Linked DNA regions of Homo sapiens: regions 1, 2, 3 and 4 are each linked to region 5. Evidence: promoter capture Hi-C in human tissues and cell types (Jung and others, 2019). All regions are on one chromosome and are shown on one strand. Each heading gives the region's core, a stretch centred on a gene start or on the middle of the fragment in contact. The rest is flanking DNA. Distances are from core to core; before and after follow the strand shown.

The links. Contacts are between HindIII fragments. The study calls those that stand out against the background at their distance.
Region 1: a contact is called between a fragment that was not itself captured here and the fragment with the promoter of SOX1 in region 5, in 10 of the 25 tissues and cell types used here (H1 embryonic stem cells, IMR-90 fibroblasts, bladder and 7 more).
Region 2: a fragment that was not itself captured here is called in contact with the fragment with the promoter of SOX1 in region 5 in 8 of the 25 tissues and cell types used here (adrenal gland, aorta, dorsolateral prefrontal cortex and 5 more).
Region 3: a contact is called between a fragment that was not itself captured here and the fragment with the promoter of SOX1 in region 5, in 4 of the 25 tissues and cell types used here (H1 embryonic stem cells, liver, lymphoblastoid cells and 1 more).
Region 4: a contact is called between a fragment that was not itself captured here and the fragment with the promoter of SOX1 in region 5, in 5 of the 25 tissues and cell types used here (bladder, dorsolateral prefrontal cortex, hippocampus and 2 more).

The regions. Positions count from the first base shown.
Region 1 is chr13:112,181,387-112,184,086 of GRCh38, forward strand. It overlaps LOC105370370 (a long non-coding RNA gene), which reads right to left. Exons shown (of 6, transcript XR_944288.1): 4 at 255-1,732. Among named protein-coding and RNA genes, the nearest start is that of LINC01070, 15 kb to the right of the region's middle. RefSeq lists an enhancer at 2,081-2,700. The HindIII fragment of the contact is 5,467 bases long and covers 1-2,700 here.
Region 2 is chr13:112,132,104-112,134,803 of GRCh38, forward strand. No RefSeq gene overlaps it. Among named protein-coding and RNA genes, the nearest start is that of LINC00404, 27 kb to the left of the region's middle. The HindIII fragment of the contact is 7,382 bases long and covers 1-2,700 here.
Region 3 is chr13:112,160,521-112,163,220 of GRCh38, forward strand. LOC100506016 (a long non-coding RNA gene) reads right to left here and starts at 190. Exons shown (of 2, transcript NR_134944.1): 1 at 1-190. RefSeq lists an enhancer at 1-277. The HindIII fragment of the contact is 8,047 bases long and covers 1-2,700 here.
Region 4 is chr13:111,988,748-111,991,447 of GRCh38, forward strand. The region is part of intron 1 of SOX1-OT (SOX1 overlapping transcript); the gene reads left to right. Among named protein-coding and RNA genes, the nearest start is that of SOX1-OT, 18 kb to the left of the region's middle. The HindIII fragment of the contact is 4,707 bases long and covers 1-2,700 here.
Region 5 is chr13:112,065,864-112,068,563 of GRCh38, forward strand. It overlaps SOX1 (SRY-box transcription factor 1), which reads left to right and starts at 1,286. Exons shown (of 1, transcript NM_005986.3): 1 at 1,286-2,700. The coding sequence starts at 1,796. The region is part of intron 1 of SOX1-OT (SOX1 overlapping transcript); the gene reads left to right. The HindIII fragment of the contact is 28,986 bases long and covers 1-2,700 here.

The DNA of each region.
Region 1 (2,700 bases), core at 137-2,636, 120 kb after region 5:
GGTCAGTGGGCGGCTCTCCACCTCACTCGCATCAAGCCTGGGCAAGGGGTGTGGTGGGTCTCAAACTCCCTCCCGAATCGAACTGTTCCCTCTGGTGAGGACAGTGCTGCCCATCTGTGTGGAGCGGCTGAGCTCACTTGGAGGAGGAGGTAAGGAGCAGAGCCCAGTGTCTGAATGAGATTCCTGTCCACAGGAAATGAGCAAGCACCTGTCCACAGAGGGGGCAGGCCAGGGAAGTGGCTCCACAGTCCCACCTGGAGACAATGCAGTGTCAGGCCAGGAGCGTCCGACTTCCAAGTGGCCCCGTGGGTCCGCGTGTGTGTGTGGACAGGGCCAGCGGCTGTTTTCCGCTGAGACCAGCCTTAGCCAATTATGTAAGTGCCCAGAAATGACATCCATTTAGTATCTTGCTCTGTGGAGGAAAAAGCTCCCCACTAATAACAACACCAACTACATAGCCTCTCAGACAGTTGCAGTAATTTTCACATTATTCCAGACCCATTCATTGTCTGACAGTTTGGTACTTCAGTTATTTTCCTACTTCTGCTTAAACTCTCCCCAAGGGAATAAGCTAATTAGTTTAACTCTTTTTGCACCTGGCTGGTGTGTGTGTTTATGGCTTTGCTTGCAATGTGTAATGACCCCTCCCAGTCTCATTCACTCTTCGTGGTCAGAGGGCCCGAACCTGTGCAGGTGCATGTACTAGAAATATGCAGGAGAGTCCACAAGTCCTGGCTAAGTCCTGAGCCTAAGGAAATCCAGCTGAAAACCAAATTCAGGAGTTGGGGTGCAAAGCTGAGAAGACAGGGGCTCTGGGCTGAGCCAGCAGGTATGCTCACAGCTGGGTGTGAATGAGGCAAGGGCCAGAGACAGCCAGGAGAGGCCTGGAGACCAGAGGCTTCCAGCAGGGAGGGAGGGGGCAGGTGGCAGCGTCTGCAGTGGAGGAAGTGCTGCCCCATGAGAAGCACAGTCCGTCCTGTCCAGACTGCCCAGGGCTGTGAGGGCCCACAGTCCCAGGAGATGTCCAGGCCAGAAAGGGCAGCCTCTTAGCGGCAATGAGGCAGAGGGAGCCTGGCCCCGGGCAAGGGGCCTGCGCACTGCACTCCATGCTCCCAGCTGCGTGACTCCCCCTCACTGACGAACTTATGTGGTGGAGAAGGGCAGATGCTGAAGAGACCCCGGAGGGACATCCCTACTCCAGCGTCACCCTCCCAGGACGGTGAACTGTGCGAGTGAATTCACACACCTGCCTTGATGGTAGGGATGTCCCTCCTCCAGCGTCACCCTCCCAGGACGGTGAACTGTGCGGGTGAATTCACACACCTGCCTTGATGGTAGGGACGTCCCTCCTCCAGCGTCACCCTCCCAGGACGGTGAACTGTGCGGGTGAATTCACACACCTGCCTTGATGGTAGGGACGTCCCTCCTCCAGCGTCACCCTCCCAGGACGGTGAGCTGTGCGGGTGAATTCACACACCTGCCTTGGTGGTAGGGACGACCTAGATGGAATCGGAGGGCATTGGGAGCATTCAGCACAGAGGCTTTCAAACGTGGGGCACTTTCTTTGGATGGAAGCAAAGGGGAAACCCCCCGAAGTCCCCCCGCACGGCTGCCATGCAGGCTCAGGGTCAGGTTCTCCTCCTTCAAGGCTGGAGTGCCTGGGCTCCATCGTCAGCCTCCTTCTCCACCTGCGTTGGTTCCTTAGCCAAAGCCATCCAGTCCGGGCCTGCAGCTGGGAGACAGGGAAGAAGAGGATGTGTGGGGCCCGTGGCACTTGACCTGGGTGACATGAGGGTCACTTCAAACACGGCCAGTGTGCAGCCTCCCAGGTCCCTGAGGTCGGCGTCTCCGGGTCAACCCTTAGTGACATCTCCAGGCCCAGGTGGCCTTGAAGTGTGGACACAGGTGGGCACCACTGGGACAAGCAGCCGTTCCCACACCAGCAGCCAGTTCCCACGCCAGCAGCCAGTTCCCACACCGGCAGTACCCACACCCAGGGAAAGGGAGACCGTGCCCGGGGCTGGCCCCTCGGGACGGCCTAGGCGTGAGTGCCAGTGACATAACCAATTCTGAGGAAATTGCAAAAGACAAGGCATGCACTTTGAGTGGTTGCGTAACAGGCTGTGAAGGGCCTCTGCCTGAAATGCTTGTATTTTTCAGAAAGCCTTGTTACAACCTGCCATAACAAAATTCCGCAGACTGGGTGGCTTACTTCTTCGTGGTTCTGGAGGCCGGAAGTCCAAGACCAAGGTGTGAGTAGGGCTGGTTCCTCCGGAGGCTCCTCTCCTGGGCTTCTGGATGCTGCCCTCTGCCTGTGTCCTCGCCCGGCCGTCCCTGTGTGTGTCTGTCCTAACCTCCTCTTCCTATAAGGACACTGGTCCTACTGGATGAGGGCCAACCCCTATGGCTTCATTTTACCCAACGATCTCTTTAAGACCCCACTGCCAAATGCGGTCCCATTGGGAGGTCCTGGGGGTGAGGGCTGCAGTGTATGAAAGTGGGGGAGACGCAGTGCAGCTGGTGACGCAGCCCCGCAGAGCTGAGCGCGTTGCCCGGCACACACTCGTGCCGACTCAGTGTGCGGCTGGGTTGGTGGCCCCTCGAAGGCGTCTGTTAAATTTGTTTATTTCTAGCATCGCAGAGTCACCAAGAAAGCGAGGCTGGAGCTCCACTCTCTCTGTGGGTTTGTCGTCACGCAGT
Region 2 (2,700 bases), core at 153-2,652, 66 kb after region 5:
AGTGAGGAGCGGGCAGGGATAGAGCCTGGTGCGGAGGAAGCCGAGGATGGGCAGGAGCAGCCCACAGAGCACCCGGCGAACGGAGGCATGTGCCCAGCGTGGATGACTCCAAGAGCAACAGCACTCCCTCGGGAATGAATCTGCAGAGTGGAACAGCTTTTCCCTCCTCCTTCCTTGTTTTTAAAAAAATGTTCCGCCATGCTACTTGTGGAAGCATGAAGTGGAGGGGCAGGAAGCCGCCTGCCCACCATGGAGCAACGGCGGCTGCCGAGGAAGGCGGAGTCTGAGCCGGGCACATCCCTGCCCGGCCGCAGATATACACGGAGGTTCTGAACAGTAGGACTGCACTGTCTTCCGGGCTGAATGACTCCAAATAACATCTGCCCAGACAGTTTGAAAAGCAGGTTGGTGTTGTATTTGGATATCTATGTTAAAGACTGCCACTTAAAAGTTGCCTTTACACATATAGTTCATGATATATACCTGGAATAAGTTAGAAGCTAAAAGCAACACACATAACAGTTAGGTTCTCACCAAACTTAACTCTCTTGGATTCTCAGGAATATTACCACTAAAGAAAGGCTTATACCGACTGAGTTAAAAATCTCCAAGCAGCAGCTCCAGAAGGGAGCATGACGCCCAAGCCCCTCCAGTGCTGGGCCAACACTCCACGCAGGCACCCAAAGCTCAGGTGACCCACCAAGCACGTTCAGCACCCATCGCCCCACTGCACAGAGCTGGCGCCATCCAGGAAGTCTTTTCCCTCGAGAGCCACAGCAGAGGGTCAGACATTCATCTTCCACCACTAAACCATCAGCTACACCAAACCCTGTGTTCACACCGCAAAGAGAATTGCCATCCCCTGTGTGTCTGCTCTGCATCCTCAATAGATACGCCCAGTGGTGTCTATTCTAACCCACATGCAGGCTGGTTCCATGAGCAGGTGAATCGCCCTGACCATTTAAATGGTTCAAAGAGCACCTGAGGAAGTGTCCTTCGTGGGTGGACGTCAGGAAGCAGGGCCGTCTTCCTGCCACCGCAGCTGCAGTGGAGATGACCACAATGAAGCAACATCTCGACAACCTCAAGCTCACAGTGTCTCCTTGAAGATTCCAATTTGCATGCTGGGTGGTAGGATTCACTGTCTATACCCATCCCCTTCCACAGATTATGATCCCAGCTTGTGCACAGCCCAAGTCAAGCCAAGAAGTTAATACAGAATAAATGTGCAGTATCTTTTGATTACGGGGCAAATACATGTCTGTGACCCTACATCATGTGGCACATACACCTGGAGGTGACTGATAAGTGTTTCTCATGTGATAAATAAAGCTTGAATTTCTCCAGGTAGAGCTGGATGAGTAGAGGAAGCCTCCGGATGGCATTCCCATTTTCATTTTGTAAAGCAGAGAATTGCACTGAACTCTAATGCCTTAGTGCTGTGACGTTACACAGAATACGTTCCTTTGTCCATCATGCATTATATTGCTTCTGTATCACAAAATATCCTCCCAGCTACCTCCTCAAATACACAGAAGCCACTTGCATGAGTACATACACAAAGAGGGTAAAACAGTGCCACTCACGGACTAACGCGGCCACACGGAAGATACTGCAGCAGGCTTGCCTTTGTCTTAGAACCAAGAGTGTGGGGCAGTCATGACCCACAAGGAGGACATTTTTTGGCAGTCAGCAAGTGACCAAGGAAGTTTAAGACCCTGGAGTGAAATCAAAAGCCCTTAAGAAAGAAAAACTTAAATGAAAATGGCCAGTTGTTCATTAATCACCAGGAGTTGTCTGACCCAGGGCGGGGGCAGTCTTATTGCTATTATAAACCATACAAATGTAAAGAAGAAAGTAATTGCCTCCTTTATAGACTGAAAAGTTAAATGTGGAGCTGCTGGTTACCGTGGACACGCTGGACTGTTTACAGCCCCGGTGTAAACAGTGGCCAGAGAGAAAGCAGCATTTCCTTCCTAATGACATTCATTAGGGTCACTTTTTTTTAGCGGGTCCTTTCTCTGAAAATGAATCCCCACTGATTATACACACGCCTTCACAGATAAAATCACATCGAAGAGAGCGGTGCGAGTGTGTGCCGGGAACCAGCCACGTGTCCATCTGATTCTGCCGTGGAACTTTCTCCGCCAGAGGTGGCAGCGAACTAACACACCCTGTCCCTTGTCCACCGAGAGAGAGACATGGATGCGCAGAGCTGTGAGCGGTCGGACCTCTGTCCCATGAGGAAGCCCGGATGACCTCTGCGTTCTGGAAACTGCTTCTGCTTTAGTCATTTCATCGGCTGACCTGTTACAGGGCTTCTGTCTGGATGCAGGGGAGGCATGGCAGGGGCCTGTGGAGGAGCCCAGGAGGGAAATGGGGCCCGACTGGAGGGTGGTGGAGCGTCATGGTGCCTCTTTCATCAGGCCTTTAGGAAACACAGGGAAGTCTGCTGCTGTGTATGGACACCATTATGACCCTGACTTACTCTCAAGGACTCACTCCTAGGCTGGAGCTGACCTGGCGTTCCACGGCCACCAGCCCAGGTTCATGAGGCTTCAGCTGCCATCACTAGTGTTTCTCTCCCGCTTCTTCAGTTTCAGAAACGATCATCATCCCCCTTTATCCTGAAAGCCCCAGTCCCTGTTTTCACAGAAATAACAATGTTCCCCTAAAGAAAAGGAACACCAGAGAATTGGA
Region 3 (2,700 bases), core at 127-2,626, 95 kb after region 5:
GAAAGCAAAAAGTTAAAATACTAAATTTTCCCTTGTTCTTATCTTTTCCCTTTGCAGCTGCCGTTTTCTGGTATTCAAGGGTTTGCATGTTAAGACCCCTTCTCTTGGGTTGACACCATCCCATGATCACGTGCCCAACCCCTAGGAAGGCAGAGCACATGCATCCTGGCGGACAGCTGCTGTCGATCCATCTGTCAGACTTGCCATAACTAGCATATGGCTGAAGCTTCCGGAAGCACCGTCACAGGCGACTCATTCAGCGCCTGTTTGTTGAGCAGTTACTGCGTTCTCATCACCACCCACACTAGGCGCGGCGTCAACACTCAGTGACCCCGAGAAGTGGCTTTCTCTTCCTTTCCAGGAACAGTGCCTGAAACTTACATTGTCCTCAGATCCATCAAAAGAGTAAACACTAGATCTCATTTATTCAGTGCGCTTAAAAGAAAAACCCATTCACAGTACATTTCCTTCAGCTCTCTGACTCTCCATGTGGTCACAGGCTGGTTTCTACTCGCCAGCTCACTCTAGGACTGTGTGCTATTAGTTTCTACAAATAATTCCACTCGTTGGGTGTCCAGAGAGTCAGGTCATCAGAGTGAACATTTTAAAACTCAGCCACGGGAGCTTCCTAAGGAATGAGAAAGCTGACGCTTTCGATCGCTCTGAAAAATCAAAGTCCTAACAGCTTCATTTTAGTCTCTGCACAAAACAGTCTCATTATTTTTGAAACATCTGATTTGAAGGCGATTTGTGTAAAAAAAAGTGTAAGCCTAGTCCCCTTGTGACTTTAAGGCTAAAAATCAGACAGTTCTCTGTGGGGACATCACCAGAAAACGGCCTCACCTACATTCAAGACGCCTCCTTCCTCCCAACCTGCTAGAATATTAATTCCTGCAGTGGCAATGGTAAAAGGTCAGTGACTTTTCACCTTTTAAAAATGAGTTTCCATGGTAACAAAACCACGATGGACAATTCACAGTGCAAAACAAAACAAAACAAGCCTGAAGTCCGGGCCCTGCTCAAACTTCAGCCGTGAAGACACTCGGCAGCCTAACCACCGTTCACGCAAACTTAGCGATCTGCCTGGTAAACAAAAGCGGAATTCAGACGCTCAGTAGGACCCATGCGCCTGCAATCCCGCCTTGCTGAAAACATTTGAGATTAAAATTTTAGTTTCATGCCTTAGTCCTTCAGCATATGGCAGGTGACTTTCAAACAAAGTAAACGGGAAAGAATAATTGGCTGACGGGAGATGGGAGAAACAATTGTGTCACCAAGTCTGCAGGCCCCAGCGCTCCCCGCAGCCCAGGTTTGTCGGGAAAATGCACCGTATCTGTAGCTCTTGTGGTTCTGGGGGTGGCTTTTGTTTGTGATATTTAATTATACTGGTAGGTCCAAACGAACTACACAATTTATAGACTCCTGTTTCTCATGGAAGAAGCAGAAAGTGATCTATTTGCAGGAGTTATGTATTTTTTTCAGGCACTTTACGGAGACACCCCAACCCCCCTTGGCTGCTGACTGTAAAATAAGAAAACTATTACCCAGCTGGGGCAACAATAGACTCCCACAGTGCCTTTCTGCTCAGCTCACAGCTGCAGGAAAGTGGAGGCTCAGCAGCAGGCAGCATTCTTCCCGCAGCCCCTTCTGTGGGCAGGGAGCCTCCCACTGATCCAATGTATTTCTATGCAAAGCGCAGAAGAAGTGACATTTTAAAAGTTTTGACCTTTTTTTTTTTTTTTTTTTTTTTTGCATGAACCGAAACATACATTTTTTAAACCTTCTGACAGGGTGTCTGTTAGAAAAGGCAATAGCCATTACTGTAATAATAAAATGTTTCAAAATTTGAAAATTCTATATTGAATATAATGCACAGATAACCTTTGTGTAGAAAATGATAGTAATGGGGGCTTGGAACCACTTTCTTATTGTTCCAGGAAAACAGATTATGACAGATTTCAGGCATATTTAGAAAACAATATCACTGGACGCAATGTTTTCATTTGCTAATTTCAGACTTTCATGATTTTTTTTCCCGAAAATGATTTGGAAGAGTTTTGCATTTGTATCATAAAGTGCTTCCATTTAATATTAGCAGTAAGGTTATTTGTTCAGAAAGCCATTCTTTGCATTAAAAAAGCATTATTTATAGAATTTAGTTTTCATACCAACATATTTAGGTATGGTTTTTTTTTTTTAAGTTTAACTTTTATTTGAATCCAAACTTCTCCAAAAAAAAAAAAAAAGACAACAAAATAACCAAGGGACAAAATGACAGCGACTTTTCTTTTAAAGACCTTCCAATTAGTACGGGACATGAATGGGAGAAGGGCTCAAAGTAAAAAAAATAACAGAAAATTAGAGCAAATGTGACGTTAAATTATTTGCAACAAAAGATAGAAGAATGGGAAGGAGATGAGATATCAAATTCTCAAGTTAGAAGATTATGCGACTTTTGAGTCTCAGACTCAAAAGATGCAGGATGGAATGTGACTGTTAAAACAGCTGAGAGGACTGGAGGACTCGGCCTCAGGCTGCTTCTGAGCGCCTTGAGTTTCCTAACTTGCCCAGCTGATCATCGTCATCAGATTTTAACTTTTATTTTCAAGACTAGAAGATGTGCAGGGCGAAGTGAGCATTTATCCTCTCTAAGGTGCTCAAAAATAAATGTTCCAGCCCCTTCTTGGCTTTTCTGAAGCC
Region 4 (2,700 bases), core at 94-2,593, 77 kb before region 5:
TACAGGTGTATGCCATCACACTCAACTTTTTTTTTTTTTTCGTAGAGACAGGATCTCACTATGTTGCCCAGGCTGGTTTCGAACTCCTGGGCTCAAGCAATCCTCCCACTTCAGCCTTCCAAAGTGTTAGGATTACAAGTGTAAGCAATGGTGCCCAGCCTCCACCATTGTATTTTAGAGACACATAATTTGTTAACTTGACAGGCTCACAGCCAGAGAGAAATTTGCCTCAGGATGAATTGTGCCTTGAGTCTCACCCATATCTGCTTTAGGTGAGACTTACTTCAGACTTTTGAGTTGATGCTGAAATGAGTTAAGACTTTTTTGGGAATACTGGGGTGGAATAAATGGCTTTAGCATTGTGAGAAAGACATTGAATGTTGGGGGCCAGGGGAAGAATGCTATAGTTTGAATGTGTCTCCCAAAAAGCATGTGTCAGAAACTTCATCCCCAATGCAACAGTGTTGAGAGGTGGAGCCTGATAAGTCATTAGGTCATAAAGCCTCTGCCCTCATGAGTGGGTTAATGCTGTTTTCTCAGGAGTGGGTGACTTATCATGAGTGGGTTTGTCATAAAGTAGGTTCAGCCACCTCTTGTTCTCCTGCTGTTGTGCACTCTTGCCCTTCTGCCTTCTGCCTGAGATCATGCAGGAAGAAGTTCCTCACCAGATTCCAGCACCATGTTCCTGGACTTCCCAGCCTCCAGAACTGTAAGAAATAACTTACTTTTTTATATAAATTACTCAATCTCAGGTATTCTATTATAGTAAACCAAAATGGAGAGACTTTGGGTTTGAAACATGGACAAACTTCTGAAAGTGCGGCAAAAACTCTTTAAGATCCTATAGACTTTCATTATTAGAAATTCAGAATTTGGTGGTGGTATGGTTTGGCTCTGTGTCCCCACCCAAATCTCATCTTGAATTGTAATCCCCACGTGGGAAGGAGGTGATTGGATCATGGGGGAAGTTCCCCCCATGCTGTGATAGTAAGTAAATTCTCACAAGATCTGATGGTTTTATAAGTGTCTAGAAGTTCCTACATTGTCCTTCTCTCTCCTGCCACCTTGTGAAGAAGGTGCTTGCTTCCCCTTCGCCTTCTGCCATGATCATAAGTTTCCTGAGGCCTCCCCAGCCATGTAAAACTGTAAGTCAATCAAACCTCTTTCCTTTATAAATTACCCAGTCTCAGTTATTTCTTTATAGCAGTGTGAAAATGGAAAAATAAACTGGTACCGGTAGGTTGGTACTGGTATAAAGATACCCAAAAATGTGGAAGTGACTTTGGAACTGGTTGGAACAGTTTGGACAGCTCAGAAGAAGACAGGGGGTTGTGAGAAAGTTTGGAACTTCTTAGAGATTTGTTGAATGTTTTTGACCAAATTGTTATTAGTGATATGGACAATGAAGTCCAGGCTAAGGTGGTCTCAGATGGAGATGAGAAACTTATTGGGAACTGGATCAAAGGTCACTCTTGCTTTAGCAAAGAGACAGGCAACCTTTTGCCCCTGCCCTAGAGATCTGTTGAACTTTGAACTTGAGAGAGATCGTCTGAAACTGGGACTTTTGTTTAAAAAGGAAGCAGGGCATGAAAGTTTGAAAAATTTGCAGCTTGATGATGTGGTAGAAAAGAAAAAATCATTTTCTGGGGAGAAATTCAAGCCAGCTGCAGAAATTTGCATAAGTTACAAGGACCTGAATGTTAATTACCAAGACAATGAGGAAAATGTCTCCAGGGCATGTCAGAGATCTTGATAGCAGCCCCTCCCATCCCATCACAGGCCCAGAGGACTAGGAGGACAAAATGGTTTTGTGGGCTGGGCCCAGGGCCCCCCTGCAGTATGCAGCGTTGGGACTTGGTGCCCTATGTTCCAGTTGCTCCAACCCCAGCCATGACTAAAAAGGGCCAAGGTACAGCTTGGGTGCTGCTTCAGAGGGTGCAAGTCCCAAGTCTTGGTGTCTTCCATGTGGTGTTGGACCTGTAGGTGCACAGAAGTCAAGAATTGAGGTTTGGGAACCTCCACCTAGATTTCAGAGGATATACAGAAATACCTGGATGTCTAGGCAGAATCCTGCTGCAATGGCAGAGCCCTCATGGAGAACCTCTGCTAGGGCAGTGAGGAAGGGAAATGTGGGGTTAGAGCACCCACACAGAATTCCCACTGGGGCACTGCCTAGTGGAGCTCTGAGAAGAGGGCCATCATCCTCCAGAACCCAGAGTGGTAGATCCACTGACAGCTTGCACCATGTGCTTGGAAAAGCCACAGATGCTCAACACCAGCCCATGAAAGCAGCCAGGAGGGGGGCTGCAAAGCCACAGAGGTGGAGCTGTCCATGGCTGTGGGAGCCCACTTCTTGCATCAGTGTGACCTGGATGTGAGACATGGAGTTAAAGGAAATTATTTCAGAGCTTTAAGATTTGATGACTTCCCCACTGGATTTTGGATTTGCATGGGGTCTGTAGCCCCTTTGTTTTAGCCAATTTCTCCCATTTAGAATGGGAGCATTTATCCAATGCCTGTACTCCCACTGTATCTTGGAAGTAACTAACTTGCTTTGGATTTTACAGGCTCATAGGTGGAAGGGACTTGCCTTGTCTCAGATGAGACTTTGGACTTGGACTTTTGAGTTAAGCCAGAATGAGATAAGACTTTGGGGGACTGTTGGGAAGTCATGACTGGTTTTGAAATTTATAAAGGACA
Region 5 (2,700 bases), core at 36-2,535:
GACCCGTCCTGAGGCCCCGCCTTTCATTCGGTTTATGTGGCCCCGCGCAGTTCACGCAGTTTTCTCCGTTCTTAGGCAACCAGCTCGTGGGAAATTCACTCCAGAAAAGCGTGCGCCATATCATTATTTTGCGATTCAACAAACTTTTTCAACTGTTGTTCAGGAACTAGATTCCAGATAGATCTTGTTGTGTTCGGCCTTCCTAGAAATTCCTTTTCCAGAGGAAGAAGATCCGGGTTGGGAAGAGTGCGTGACTATGGCCCCGGGCTCATTGAAAGACTCCTCCCCACAAAAGTTTAGGGCTGATACTAAACGAAGCTATGGAGCCATGCCCACACAAATACTCCCCCTTTACCCGAATTGTGGGGCCTGGACTGTGAAGGCCTTCGCTGCAAGAGCGGGCACTGGCGAACTTCAGTGCACGCCGCGGCCGAGAACGGATGCAGGGCGGGGGATGGCTGAGCCGCCTGATCCTTGCAGAGAACCTGCAGGGGCCCTCGGAGGGTATCCCCTGCGTCCAAGGGAGCGCCCCTCCTTTTCAGCACTCGGGGGAACTGAGGGCGACGTGCCAGCCCCGCACTCAACTTTCCCCTTCCCTGCAGGCACAGAGTTGGCCGGCGGGGGCAGAGGAGGAGCTGGGTCTCCACTGCGCCCGTTTAAACCTGGCCAGGGGCTGCGTTTCCTCCCCCCACCCCACGACGATCCTTTCTTAGTCTTCGCTTTTCAACCCAATCGTTAATCATTCGGAACGCGCGGGCGGGGAGCGGCGAGGAGGGCGAGCTCGGGGTTCGCCGCCGCCGCCGCCGCCGCGCGCGCGCGCTCAGGAAGCGGTGTGGCTGTCACCCCCTCCCGGGCCTCCTCCCCCCTCCTTCCTGCTTTGCTCCCCCTCCTTCCTCCCCTCCTCCCCGCTCCGCCGCCCGCGCCCAGTGTATCTACTCCCTCCCCACGTCACTCGCCAGCGCGCCATGCAAATCACCGCCGCCGCCGGCTCCCATTGGCCGCGGCGCGCTCATTTAATGGCAGCCCGGGCCCGGCGTATGGCTGCTGGGCCCCGCGCGCCGCCGGCCCCGCGTGCGCCTCCGCTCCGAGCGCACGGCCCCGGGCAGGCAGCGGGCAGCCCATCCCGGGCTCGGCGGCCCCGGCTCTCCGGCCCTCTCCGCGAGCCCGCGCTCCTCCCGCTGTCCCCGGGCCCCTCCCTGGCTGCACCGTAATCGCCCCCTGCAGGCCCCCCTGCGCCTCCCCCCCCCCGCCACTGGCGCCTGGCTTCCCCCGGGCACCTGGGACCAGCACATGCCCAGCGCACGCGGCGCGCCGCCCTGCTAGAAGTTGCAGCCTCCGAGTTGGAGGCCGCTGAGGACCGAGCGCAGGAGGAAGGAGACAGCGCGCAGCGGCGGCCGGCGAGGAGACAGCACACCCCGGGCCGGGCCCAGCGCACCGCTCCCGGCCCCAAAAGCGGAGCTGCAACTTGGCCACGACTGCACCTGTTTGCACCGCTCCGCCGAGGGCGCCTGGGCTGCGGTGGCGGCGAAGACGGCGACCCCGACCGTCGGCCTCTTTGGCAAGTGGTTTGTGCATCAGGAGAAACTTTCCACCTGCGAGCCGAACCGGCGCCGAGTGCGTGTGTTTCTGCCTTTTTTTGTTGTCGTTGCCTCCACCCCTCCCCATTCTTCTCTCCGCTAGGACCCCCCCGCCCCCGTCTCACTCCGTCTGAATTCCTCTCCGTCTCCCTCCCACCCCGGCCGTCTATGCTCCAGGCCCTCTCCTCGCGGTGCCGGTGAACCCGCCAGCCGCCCCGATGTACAGCATGATGATGGAGACCGACCTGCACTCGCCCGGCGGCGCCCAGGCCCCCACGAACCTCTCGGGCCCCGCCGGGGCGGGCGGCGGCGGGGGCGGAGGCGGGGGCGGCGGCGGCGGCGGGGGCGCCAAGGCCAACCAGGACCGGGTCAAACGGCCCATGAACGCCTTCATGGTGTGGTCCCGCGGGCAGCGGCGCAAGATGGCCCAGGAGAACCCCAAGATGCACAACTCGGAGATCAGCAAGCGCCTGGGGGCCGAGTGGAAGGTCATGTCCGAGGCCGAGAAGCGGCCGTTCATCGACGAGGCCAAGCGGCTGCGCGCGCTGCACATGAAGGAGCACCCGGATTACAAGTACCGGCCGCGCCGCAAGACCAAGACGCTGCTCAAGAAGGACAAGTACTCGCTGGCCGGCGGGCTCCTGGCGGCCGGCGCGGGTGGCGGCGGCGCGGCTGTGGCCATGGGCGTGGGCGTGGGCGTGGGCGCGGCGGCCGTGGGCCAGCGCCTGGAGAGCCCAGGCGGCGCGGCGGGCGGCGGCTACGCGCACGTCAACGGCTGGGCCAACGGCGCCTACCCCGGCTCGGTGGCGGCGGCGGCGGCGGCCGCGGCCATGATGCAGGAGGCGCAGCTGGCCTACGGGCAGCACCCGGGCGCGGGCGGCGCGCACCCGCACGCGCACCCCGCGCACCCGCACCCGCACCACCCGCACGCGCACCCGCACAACCCGCAGCCCATGCACCGCTACGACATGGGCGCGCTGCAGTACAGCCCCATCTCCAACTCGCAGGGCTACATGAGCGCGTCGCCCTCGGGCTACGGCGGCCTCCCCTACGGCGCCGCGGCCGCCGCCGCCGCCGCTGCGGGCGGCGCGCACCAGAACTCGGCCGTGGCGGCGGCGGCGGC